Linked DNA regions of Homo sapiens: regions 1 and 2 are each linked to region 3. The links are contacts of gene promoters, found by promoter capture Hi-C in blood cells and fetal thymus (Javierre and others, 2016). All regions are on one chromosome and are shown on one strand. The core of a region is centred on a gene start or on the middle of the fragment in contact, and the rest is flanking DNA. Distances in the headings are between cores, read along the strand shown. Region 1 has its middle 12 kb from the start of KRT38. Region 2 has its middle 4.5 kb from the start of KRT32. Region 3 holds the start of KRT23 (keratin 23).

Region 1 (4,176 bases), core at 275-2,774, 520 kb before region 3:
AGAGCTAAGTAGTTGCAGTACAAAGAGAGTATACGACTTGCAAAGCCTAAAATATTTAGCATCTGTCTTTTTAACAGAAAAAGCTTGTCCATCTTGGTGCAGAGGAAACAGAATGTGCTAGGGGCCCTGGGACCAGTCCTGGCTCTGTATCTGACTTGCTTGGCATCCCTGGGGAGCTCACTGTCCTTCTCTGGTCTCTGAAGCACGAAAGGTTGAATTAGTACTTGGAAGTTTTCTTTAGTTCTAATAACTTAGCAGTCTTTGCTCTATTGCTCTTTAGGGATTCCTGAGGCTCTTATCAGAGAATTTTACTTTTTTGGGTATTGAAGGTCAGTGGAGAGGACGATTCATCTTAGAGCCAATGCCATTCCTAGAGAGAGGCCAGATAGTCACTCAAGGAACAAAGTCTAACTTTTCAATGGGGCATCTCTAAAGAGAAAACATTTAACATTTCTTTTCACAACAGAAGGCAGTAACAAGAAGTCCAAAGTCAGCCCTTTCTTTCATAAAGTGGGGAGCTACTTCTGAGGACTGAATAACTGCTGATGGGTTGTTCTGATGGCAGAACAAATGAGGATTCATTGGGGGAAAGCTTGTGTATCACATCTGCTCCTATGGCAGGTGAATAAAAGCTCTGGGTGAGGAAACACTCACACCTGAGCACCTGGCCCTTGTCACCAATCTGCAACTCAACTGTCTAGGACCATGGCTTCTAGTTAAAGCAGAAATCCCTGCTCCTCAAGCTTTGGCAAGAGCCATTTGAAGCCTCCTTGCTCCAGACAGGCTGTGGCCAGAAACCACTCTAGAAACTCTGTACCCAATGTCTGTAGATCCCAGTATTAAGACTGGGGCCCACCTGTAAGAGAGTCACCAACCTAGTAGCCATCTCCTTAGAACCTGTGGCTCACAGTCAGTCCAGCCTGGCCCTGCCAGCAGTCACTCTGCCTGTCCTCTGCCAGGGACCAGGAACATCCCTGCCAGTATGGGCACCTGTGGCTGGTTCAGTGAAGACATCCTCAGCAGCAGTGGGAAAGGGATCATGCAGTTCTTAAGTGAGTGCCTGGCCAACTGCTTGCAGAAGTTGCAGCAGTTGGAGCAGGAGAATGAGAAGCAGGGGTGGTGCTGAGAGCCAGCAGTGGAGCAAACGGCAGTGCCCTGACATATGCTCCAATTACTGCTCACACTTTGAGACCATTAAGGAGCTCCAACAAAAAGTAAGATGAGGCCTTGAGCTCTGGTGTCAGTGGCATGGAAAGAGAGGGCTGAGGATTGGTGATGGGAGAATTGGAGGGGTTGCCTGGGGGGATGACAGTCCATGAATGTTCATAAAGATGGATTGAAGGTGCCAGAAATAAACTGTGATGTCAAGGGCCCAACCACTTGGTTCTACAACCAGTTCCATTCAACAAGCATCATTGCTGATGTCTGCAATGAGAGGACTGTGAGTGGGATATGGATTTATTTCTTCACAATCCAGATCCTGCCTTATTTAAGGACATGCCACCATTCACTCACTAGTTATTGAGCACCAGCAATGAGTGATTGCATCGCTGGGTGCTGGGGAGCAGACAGTGCCTACAAAATGAAGCCTCAGCTCTTTAGCCTGGCATTCAAGGCTGCCATGTTCTCAGCCTCACTTTTTTTTGTAGCTTACCTCTTTCTAATCTTCTGCAAACATCCTGTGCTTCTATCAAACTGCTTTGTCACTTGCCCTATGCTTCTGTCAAACTGCGTTGTCACTCACAAAATGTTTGTTCACATGTGTAGTGCTTTCTTTCTCATCTTTGCATGGCCAAATTCTAGTTGGGCTTCAAAACCCAGGTGATATTCCCCACCTCCTGGAATCCTCTCTAGAAGCTAATCCCCCTGGGATGGATTTTGCCTTCCATGGAATAACCCACAGCCGCATATCTGAACGTCTCTTGTGGCATTCTCATCTTTCTATTTGTTTTGGAGTTCCTGTTCTGTACAAGATGGTGGAAAGGATGAACAACCTAACTTCATTTTTAAAAAATTAATCACATTTATTTAGTATTTTCCATTAAGTGCTGATATTCAGCTGGGATGTAGCAGTCTGTCTCTGTGGCCGTTTCCACATCTCCTTTTAGATTGCTGCCAACAGTGGTTATAATATTTCTGAAATCATCCTTGATTCTACTAAATGTCAAACCTGAACTGGGAATTTTCACATACCTTTTTTCTTTGAACCATTTCAGCAATCCTCTAAGGTGGATATTATTATTTCTATTTTATCTAAAAAGAATAGAGCACCTTTATTAAGAGCTCACTAGATGTCAGAAGCTTTGCTAAACATATATGCTTGGTTGCATTTAATCCTTACAAGGATTTGATGAAGCAGATAGAATCACGTTTTCCATTTTACAGATGGGAAGATTTTAAGCTTCAGGGGGTTAGAAGCTATGCCTAAAGTCTCAGAGCTGGTAAACTGCCAAGCTGCGTGACACAGGTCCACTTAACCACTGTGTTGGTGCCTTTGAGGAAGTGGATGAGGAGAAAAAGGGAGGGTGAGTGAACCAGAAGCATGTCTTGGCTGTGCAGAGCTGGGTTTCAGTCCAAGGGGCTATCCCTTCAACCCCCTCACTGCTGCCCAGACCTGACCAATGGAGCCCACAGTAGAGTGAGAAGTGAAACCCCATCTGTATCCCAGAGCGCAGCTAGTTTCGTTACAGATGGGAGCAAACCCTTGGATACTTGATGCTTAAAAATCCACCATAAGGAAAGATGGAAACGTCCCCATGTGGCTCAGATCACATTTTTTTTCATTCATTTTAGGGCCTGGGGAGAATTCCATGGAGAGCATCCTTGTGAAGCATGGTGTTTCTCATTCTCAGATCTCACCCAGGAGGGTAGGGAATGCTTGGTTGGCTGTCCAGGTGGACAATGTGAAAATAGCTGTGACAACTTTAGGACAGAGAGAGTCTGACAGGAGCTGGGAACTGCTGCTCCCTGGTACTCTGTCCATCTCTTTCGTGTCAGGTACAGGTCTCTGTGGAGGAAGCAAAGGAGGGGCAGCCTTTGAAAAGAATCCCTCCAAGGAAATGTTTCCACCAACCTAAGAAGTATTAATAAAAAGATTCAGTCCCAAAGAATTTTAGGGGTAATTTAAGATGTGTTTGATTAAGATTGAGCCCTAATCAAGAATTAAGTCAGCTCCTGAAGGACAGGGTTAGGTCTCAACAGTCACAGTGGCATTAGTGAGTGTTCACAATGTTTAAGACTACACCAAAGTGCTGAATGTAGTTTATTCCATCTTCACAACAACCTTGTGAGCTAAGAATTGTTACCCTCATTTTACAGATGAGGATGTTGAGGCTCAGAGAAAGAAACTTGCTCAAAGGTACACCTGGCATAGGATGGCATTGAGACCCAAACCACATTCTACCTAAGCATGTAGTATTAATTGTGTAAGAGTTAAAGAAAGAAGAAAGAAACATGAAAAGTGGCTCAACAGTCAAAGACAGGTTTATTTTGGAGAATAAACCTGAGAGAGGCTTCTGGCTGATTTCAGTTAGGAGTGTTCTCTCTTACAGACTAAGGATATTTAAGGGTTTAGGAAGCTGGGAGCTTATCATAGGTTTGGAATGTTTCTACGTGAGGAAAAATTTATTGTGGGGTTGGAATGTCTTTGGTTAGAGGGGAAGCTATCTTGGGGTTGGCATGTTTCTGGTTGGAGGGGGGTTATCGTAGGGTTGGAATATTTCTGTTTATGCTGACATTAGCTATTAGACTGACATTTTGGGGCTGGATTTAGGCTACTTTTTTTTTAATCAAGGGAAACTTAAAATGGTGGTGTTTGTCTAAGATGGCGATGCTCCTGCTCTGTCAAATTGCTGTCTTTCATTGTGCACTAAAGTATCTGGTGGATAGTGAAAGATCAATAAGTATTTTCATATTTTATTTAGTATAGAAACATCCCCCCAATCAAAGCAGATGTACAAGTGCCTCTGGCCTGAGAAGAGCAAATGGAGAGGCATGCATGCTGAAAGACAGGCCACTGGCTTGGATGCTTATCTGCCACGTTTAGACAAGTGTCAGAGTTGGCTGGGCCCAGCCAATGAGTGGAGACCAACATAAACAGCCTGCACAGGCTCCTGGGTGATGTGGGTCTGCGCCAGGGAGAGCTGGAGGTGCAGTAAGAGTCCCTAAGGGAGGAGT
Region 2 (4,230 bases), core at 772-3,271, 530 kb before region 3:
CCCAGGCTGTGACACACATCCTATCTGCTTTTGTTGAAACAGGCCCTTCCTCCTGGATTCTTTGCATCCCTTTCTCTTCTCTTCCTAAACTTATTTTCCTGATAGTTTGCTCTGGCCCCAGAGAGGTTGGGGTACAGTGGAAAGTCTTTGGATCAGCCAGACCTGGGCCTGAGAACTGACAGTGCCCCACTTTCTCTGTGGCTACCTTTCCTAGACCCTACTTCTCCATCTTCACGACATACCCCAGATCTGGCATATTGCCTGGAACTGTGGTCTTCTGTGACTTTGGATGCTGCTGCTACTACCTTTATCAATCCGCTCTTTTTTTTTTTTTGAGACGGAGTCTCGCTCTGTGGCCCAGGCTGGAGTACACTGGCGCAATCTCGGCTCACTGCAAGCTCTTCCTCCCGGGTTCACGCCATTCTCCTGCCTCAGCCTCCCAAGTAGCTGGGACTACAGGTGCTCGCCACCAAGCCCAGCTAATTTTTTTGCATTTTTAGTAGAGACGGGGTTTCACCGTGTTAGCCAGGATGGTCTTGATCTCCTGACCTCGTGATCTGCCCGCCTGGGCATCCCAAAGTGCTGGGATTATAGGTGTGAGCCACTGCACCTGGCCTCAATCTGCTTTTATATGAAACCTGGTCTTTCCTTCACAACGGAAAACTCTGCTCACGCTGGCATTTGGGACTGCACCTCACAGCGACAGCCTCTCAGCATCATCCTGGAGCCCCTGCTCCTGGTTCCTGTCTCTCTCCTCCTCATTCCTTCCTTCCAGGATTGTCCTGTGAACTTCAAATCCTTCTCTCCTTTCACCCTCTGATGTCTTACCAGCCAAATCAAGGCATTAGGGTCCCACCTTTTAACCCAAGATCTTCTTAATGTAGTTTCCCAAGTAAAGACATTTTTTTTCCTGCAAGATGAATTCTGGTGACAGCTGTTAAAATATATGCAGGCACACTTCGATTTATTGAGTTTCAATTTATTATACTTCCCAGATATCGTTTTTTTTTCTTTTTTCTTTCTTTTTTTTTTTTTTTTTTTACAAATTAAAGTTTTGTGCCAATCCTGCCTAGAGCAAGTCTGTTGGTGCTAATTTTTCCAACAGCATGTGCTTATGTGTCTCTGTGTCACATTTTGGTAATTCTCACAATACAAATTTTTTCTTTTTCTTTTTTTTTGAGACAGAATCTGGCTGTCTGCCCAGGCTGGAGTGCAGTGGCGTGATCTCGGCTCACTGCAACCTCTGCCTCCTGGGTTCAAGCAATTCTCGTGCCTCAGCCTCCCAAGTAGCTGGGATTACAGGCACACCACGCCTGGCTAATTTTTGTAATTTCAGTAGAGATGGGGTTTCGTCATGTTGGCCAGGCTGGTCTCGAACTCTTGACCTCAAGTGATCTGCCCACCTCAGCCTCCCAAAGTGCTGGGATTACAGGTGTGAGCCACTGCGGCTGGCCAAACTTTTTCATTATTGTATGTGTTATGGTGATCTGTGGTCAGTAATCTTTGATATTACTGTTGTAATTGTTCTGGGATGCACCAAACCATGCCCAGATAAGATGGGGAACCTAACTGATAAACGTTGCGTGCGTTCTGATGGCTCCACCAACTGGCCATTCCCCCATCTCTCTCCCTATTTTGGGTCTACCTATTTTCTGAGACACAGCAATATTGAAATTAGGCCAATTAATAACCCTACCGTGGCTTCTAAGAGTTCAAGTGAAAGGAAAAGTTGCAGGTTTCTCCCTTTAAATAAAAAGCTAGAAATGATGAAGTTTAGGGAGGCGGCATCTTTCATAGCTAGACAGGAGGAGTCTGCCTTCAAAACCTTCAAAGGATGGGCTGACTCTCTTGCTAGGAGCTAATGCAGCTGATGACTTCAAGTGGGAAGTCAATGCTCATTTACCATTCTGAATATCCTAGGGCACTTAAGAATGATGCTAAATCTTTTCTGCCTGTGCACTACAAACGGAACGACAAAGCCTGGACGACAGTGCATCTGTTTATAACATGGTTTACTGAATATTTTAAGCCCACTGTTGAGACCTACTGCTTAGAATAAAAGGTTTCTTTCAAAATATTTCTGCTCATTGACAATGCATCTGATCACCCAAGAGCCCTGATGGAGCTGTCCAAGGAGATTAATGTTTTTGTGTTTGCCAACACAACATCCATTCCACAGCCCATGGATCAAAAACTAATTTTGACTTTCAAGTCTTATTACCTAAGAAATATATTTCATAAGGCTATAGCTGCCATACAGAGTGATTCCTCTGATGGATCTGGGCAAAGTAAATTGAAAACCTTCTGAAGAGGATTCACTATTCTATATGTCAATATTTGTGATTCAAGAGAGGAGGTCAAAATATCAACATTAACAGGAGTTTGGAAGAAGTTGATTCCAACTCTCATGTATGATGTTGAGGGGCTTAAGACTTCAGCAGAGGAAGTAACTATAGATGTGTTGGAAACAGCAAGAGAATTAAAATTAGAATTGGAGCCTGAAGATGTGACTGAATTGTTGCCATGTTATGGCAAAACGAACGGATGAGGAACTGCTTCTTATTCATGAACAAAGAAAGTGGTTTCTTGAGATGGAAACTACTCCTGGTGAAGATGCTGTGAACATCACTGAAATGGCAACAAAGGATTTGGAATACTACATCAATTTAGTTAATAAGGCAGTGGCAGGGTTTGAGAGGACTGACCCTAGTTTTGAAAGAATTTCTACTGTTAAAATGCTATCAAACAGCATCACATGCTACAGGGAAATCTTTCATGAAAGGAAGAGTCAACTGATGCGGCAAACTTCACTGATGTCTCATTTTCAGAAATTGCCACAGCCACACTAACTTGCAGCAATCATCACCCTGATCAGTCCTCAGCCATCAACATTGAGGCAAGACCTTCCACCAGCAAAAAGATTATAACTTGCTGAAGGCTCAGATGATCCTTAGCATTTTTAGCAATAAAGCATTTTTAAAATTAAGTTATATACATTGTTTTTAGGCCATAATGCTATGGTACACTTAATAGACTATAGTATAGTGTAAATATAATGTTTACATACACAGAAAAACCAAAAAGTTTGTGTGACTCACTTTATGGTTACATTTGCTTTATTGTGGTGGTCTAGAACTGAACATGCACTATCTCTGAGGTATGCCTGTATCTTCCTCTATCTCAGTGGGTCTCCAAACCACCTGAAGGACATGCTAAACACAGGCTGCTGCATCCCAGCCCCAGCCTCAGAGTTTCTGATTCAGCCAGTCTGGGATGAGCCTGAAAAACTGCATTTCTTTTTTTTTTACATTTTATTTTTATTTTTATCAAAGCAGTGTATCTACATTGTTTAAATAAAACAACATTAAATAGCAAATATTTAAAAACTGCAACATCTATGCCTTCTTTCTTTCTTTATTGTTATTATACTTTAAGTTTTAGGGTACATGTGCACAATGTGCAGGTTAGTTACATATGTATACATGTGCCATGCTGGTGTGCTGCACCCACTAACTCGTCATCTAGCATTAGGTATATCTCCCAATGCTATCTCTCCCCCGTCCCCCCACCCCACAACAAATGAGAACACATGGACACAGGAAGGGGAACATCACACTCTTTTTTTTAAAAATTTTACTTTAAGTTCTGGGATGCATTTGCAGAATGTGCAGGTTTGTTGCATAGGTATACATGTGCCATGGTGGTTTGCTGCACCTATCAACCCATCATCTAGGTTTTAAGCCCCGCATGCATTAGGTATTTGTTCTAATGCTCTCTCTCCCCTTGCCCCCCATCCCCCGACAGGCCCTGGTGTGTGATGTTCCCCTCCCTGTGTCCATGTGTTCTCATTGTTCAACTCCCACTTATGAGTGAGAACATGTGGTGTTCGGTTTTCTGTTCCTGTGTTGGTTTGCTAAGAATGATGGTTTCCAGCTTCATCCATGTCCCTGCAAAAGACACGAACTCATTCTTTTTTATGGCTGCATAGTATTTCATGGTATATATGTGCCACATTTTCTTTATCCAGTCTGTCATTGATGGGCATTTGGGTTGGTTCCAAGTCTTTGCTATTGTAAATAGTGCTGCAATAAACATACTTGTGCATGTGTCTTTATAGTAGAAAGATTTATAATCCTTTGGGTATATACCCAGTAATGGGATTGCTGGGTCAAATGGTATTTCTGGTTTTAGATCATTGAGGAATCACCATGCTGTCTTCCACAATGGTTG
Region 3 (4,588 bases), core at 2,023-4,522:
GTAAAAATGTATTTGAGAGTCATTTTGGCCATCTTTCTCTACTATAAAGAACGGGTGCCTATAAAATGCTTCATTAATGGAATGGTTGTCTTGAAAAGGCACACAAACAGACGGTGTACCCAGTTCATGACAGCTACCTTCTGACAGGGCTCCCTTCTGACCCCAACACACCCACATGCAACCCCATGCATTCACTCAACAGCTGAGCTGTCTTACAAAGTACCCACTCCCTTTCAAGACGACAACTGAGTTCATCAGAAAGATGAATCAAATGTGAAAACTACAAATGTTTCAGCCAGAAAATCATGCAAAGCAGAATGATTTTGATTCTGAACAATTTGCACTCTACAGAAATACCAAAAGAAATCCTGAAACCATATTGCAAGTGAAATGCTTGTGAACCAAAAGGATCAGTAAATGTTGGCCATTTACTGAGGAAGCAGTTGGAGGCTTCATCCCTCGCGTTCTTTAAGAATACTTCAAAAACAAGCTCAGCACTCTGCCGTTGTCCTCCCTAAAAGCAAAAATCTGCAACAAGTGGCTCAGCGTTGCTTTTCTTTCCAGTCCTGCGATTCCAAAAATCCTGGCATTTACAGGCCATTTTATCCTTCTTAAAAATGTAAAATTTAAAAGAATGTGATGAACGTTTTTAAATTCTAGAAAAACTATGTCACTAAAGTGAATTCATTTTAGTTCCTTATTTGCCAATTAAAATGTGTTAATTGACTTAAGTTTTTCTAAAATGGAATAAGTCGCAGGAGCCCATTTTTCCAATTATTCTAGCCATTCTTTTGTCTTCCAATACATACACATAGTATCTGAAAGGATGTTCACCAAATGTCACCAAACGTTGTGTGTGTGTGGTAGAATTTTTAAATATTTTTTCCTGTACCATCATGTATCACTTGATTTTGTATAATAAGCATGTATCATTTCTTTTAATGCTTTTAAAATGATGCTTTTAAAAAAGCATCATTTCTTTTAAAATCCAATGGAACTCTACACATTAGAAGTTATGGAAAACCAGGGCCGGGTGCGGTGGCTCATGCCTATAATCCCAGCACTTTGGGAGGCCGAGGTGGGTGGATCACAAAGTCAGAAGTTCAAGATCTGCCTGGCCAACATGGTAAAACCCCGTCTCTACTAAAAACTACAAAGATTAGCCGGGCGTGGTGGCACGCACCTGTGGTCCCGGCTACTCGGGAGGCTGAGGCAGAAGAATCGCTTGAACCCGGGAGGTGGAGGTTGCAGTGAGCCACGATCACATCACTGCACTCCAGCCTGGGCGACAGGGCGAGACTCTGTCTCAAAAAAAAAAAAAAGAAGTTATGGAAAATTGGCTGGGCAGGGTGGCTCATGCCTGTAATCCCAGCACTTTGGGAGGCCAAGGCAGGCAGATCATGAGGTCAGGAGTTCAAGACCAGCCTGGCCAACATGGTGAAACCCCGTCTCTACTAAAAATACAAAAAATTAGCTGGGCATGGTGGTGCGCACCTGTAATCCTAGCTACTCGGGAGGCTGAGGCAGGAGAATCGCTTGAACCCAGGAGGCGGAGGTTGCAGTGAGTCAAGATTGCGCCATTGCACTCCAGCCTGGGTGACAGAGCAAAACTCCATCTTGAGAAAAAAAAAAAAAGAAGTTATGGGAAACCATCATATAACAGTACTAGAAGAGACTATTTCTCCCCAGTGCTCTCAGATCTCACCACCAGTTTTTCCTGGCCCTGGTCCTGCTATGACACAAGAAATCTTTTGCTCAAGGATAAGTCCTATAAATCAAAACTCCCACACATGGACATAAAATGAGACAGTGGCCAAATCTATGGGGTTGATAAGTCACTGCCACTCAGACATGCCTGAAATAATTAGAGAAGCATTAATTTCATTGTAGATTCTGGTGAGAGAATTTAGAAAAAGGCAGTGCAGCCCGGCCCTTGCACATGCTAAAGGTAAATGTTTTCTTCCTTGGTAAGTCTGGGTCCAGGCGAACAGGAACCAGAGCTGACCATAACTTTGATGACCAGGAACCGTCCACATCCACAGAACACTGGTTGCCACCACTCGCCAAACAAGTCTCTCTAGTTCCCTCATTTGCTCTATTTTTATCACTTGTCTCTTTTGTCTTTTTCTCATATCTGAGATGTAAGTGACTGTCGGCACTCTTTCTAAGCACTCTCCAAGCTTCCCTGAGGCTTGGAGGCTCATTTTTCCAGCTCGTGCACAGTGAAATAAAAAATATTCAGAGACTCTTCCCTGATAAGGTTTTGTTGTAAGACTGGGAGGAGCAGAGCTGGTGTGCTTTTGGGTGGCTTTATTTGTAATTGGAAAAGATTGGCCTTCATGGATGGTTAATCTATACCCAGGAGAGGCGTTTTCCTACTTTCTAGTTCTATAACTCACAGTCCTAAAAGGAGCAGAAGTTGATGGCATCAGGAGACCTGTGTTAAAATCCTGACTCTAAAAAGTTTATGATTGAGTCAACATACATTTGCAAAATACCACCAAGAAACCAGACTTTGGTGCTCAAAAATGGAAGACATAAACTCTGCTTTCAAGAAGCCTGCGGTCTCAGAAGGGTGTGGCAAATGCAGTATAATGGAGTGAAAGAACGGAGTGGACTTCATCCCAGGCACAGGAGGTGGCTGCGCCTGGCTAGGGGCTCCCAGCTTCCACCATGAGGTGGGATGCCAAGGTGTCTGCCCCTCTGGAGGACCTCGGCATCCAGAAGAGGCAGTTTCCTCCTAGAGGGTCACCCAACTCATGCAGGAGAATTCAGAAAATGATTGTTGAAGGAGGTAGCCCTTGAACTATAGAAGAGGTAGGGGTGAGTGACTTTCCAGGCAGGGAGGACAGCACAGACTCGGGCAGTGTCACCTATGAATTCATGTGCTCAATTACACTGTACATGCGAATCAGCTCTGGATCATTCATCCCTATGAGACCCTGATTCTTTGTCTGCAAAATGAAGACAACAACCCTTGCCTGGATACATAAAGAGTTGTGAGGATTCAATAAAGAATATAAAAGAGCTACACCAATTGGCAAGTCCTATTATTATGAAAGAGAAGTGTGGTACAGGACCTGTCAAGATTCAACCCAAGATAACAGTGCTATGTGGAGAAAGAATCTAGCCCTGGCTCTGCCACTAACCTCCCCACCACCATAGGCCTCAGCTTTCCTCATCTGTCCAATTAGTGGCTTGGAACCAGAAAGGCCAGAAGCCCTTCCTGCGCTGATATTTTATTTGTAAGTCCCCTTTAAATCCAACTGCCAGTAACTAGCACGTGGCTCCCGCCCCCAGACTGCTTCTTTATTCATTCCTAACCTTTACCTTGGCAGATGAAATATAAGATTCATCAACCACATTTGACAGCCCATGGCAGGTTTCCTGTTTTCCATCGTCCCTCTGCAGGTCACAGACACACAGAGCCCAGCCGTGGCAGGCTCAGCCGGGGTCCGGGGCTGCTAACAACGGCTACATTCCTCCCCCAGGGCCAAGGGAAATCCTGAGCGCAGGCCAGGGTTGTTTGGTTTTGAGGTGTGCTGGGATGAAAGGCACCCTGGAAGTGGAAGGTTCGGTCATTCATTAATTAATTACATCTATAATTGAGGGTTTGTTCTTAAGAGCGAGTCCTTTGAAAGTACTTTCCTTCAAACAGTGACTGCCACAAAGGCATCAGATATTCACCACCTTCTCGGCTGCCTCAGCACAGCAAGCTTTATTCTGGGACCTGAGATCCTGTTCTGAGCTGGCTTTCCCTTCTCCAGGCTCGCTCACCCTCCCTTTAGAGGTGGGGCTTATTGGGGGTGGAAAAAGGTGTGTGTATCTCTGTTGTTTAATGTCTGGTTTTTTGTTGCTGTTGTTGTTGTTTTGTTTTGGTTTTGGTTTTTGGTTTTTTTTAAGGAAATCTATACTACATCGAATATGCTTTCTTTTGGGTGGACTTTAACCTAACCCATTCCAGGTAAATGAACAATGGAAAAACTTCACGGCAAGATTAGAAAGATACCTGAGCCCAATACCCGCCTGATGTCGTGGGCCACACCTCCGGGTTACCAGGGGAAGGGAGGAAGCAAACTGTCATATTGATGTGGCTCTAAACAACAACAGTGTGCGAAGGCCCAGGGGCACTTTGGGATTGACCAAGAGGAAACACAAGTTGCACAATGATACAATCTTGTTGGTACAATTGTCAGAGAAGGGAACTCCCACAGCAAAGGCCATAAAACCATCCAGGGCAGTCTGGGGCGGCTCAGTTCTGCGGTGCCAGGGAGTGGAGCAGAGCTCAGCCCCGTCCCAAACACAGATGGGACCATGAACTCCGGACACAGCTTCAGCCAGACCCCCTCGGCCTCCTTCCATGGCGCCGGAGGTGGCTGGGGCCGGCCCAGGAGCTTCCCCAGGGCTCCCACCGTCCATGGCGGTGCGGGGGGAGCCCGCATCTCCCTGTCCTTCACCACGCGGAGCTGCCCACCCCCTGGAGGGTCTTGGGGTTCTGGAAGAAGCAGCCCCCTACTAGGCGGAAATGGGAAGGCCACCATGCAGAATCTCAACGACCGCCTGGCCTCCTACCTGGAGAAGGTTCGCG

Evidence for each region. The method cuts DNA at HindIII sites, captures the fragments that hold promoters and counts their contacts. A CHiCAGO score of 5 or more calls a contact.
Region 1: a contact is called between a fragment that was not itself captured here and the fragment with the promoter of KRT23 in region 3, in 10 of 17 cell types (activated CD4 T cells, total B cells, naive B cells and 7 more). The highest score is 8.2, in activated CD4 T cells.
Region 2: a contact is called between a fragment that was not itself captured here and the fragment with the promoter of KRT23 in region 3, in 4 of 17 cell types (naive CD8 T cells, activated CD4 T cells, total CD8 T cells and 1 more). The highest score is 8.0, in naive CD8 T cells.

The regions. Positions count from the first base shown.
Region 1 is chr17:41,450,805-41,454,980 of GRCh38, reverse strand. No RefSeq gene overlaps it. Among named protein-coding and RNA genes, the nearest start is that of KRT38, 12 kb to the right of the region's middle. The HindIII fragment of the contact is 1,558 bases long and covers 746-2,303 here.
Region 2 is chr17:41,469,731-41,473,960 of GRCh38, reverse strand. No RefSeq gene overlaps it. Among named protein-coding and RNA genes, the nearest start is that of KRT32, 4.5 kb to the right of the region's middle. The HindIII fragment of the contact is 4,488 bases long and covers 1-4,230 here.
Region 3 is chr17:40,936,330-40,940,917 of GRCh38, reverse strand. It overlaps KRT23 (keratin 23), which reads left to right and starts at 3,272. Exons shown (of 9, transcript NM_015515.5): 1 at 3,272-3,572; 2 at 3,965-4,588. The coding sequence starts at 4,315. All of the region lies in intron 1 of LOC107985072 (a long non-coding RNA gene), which reads right to left. The HindIII fragment of the contact is 1,536 bases long and covers 2,183-3,718 here.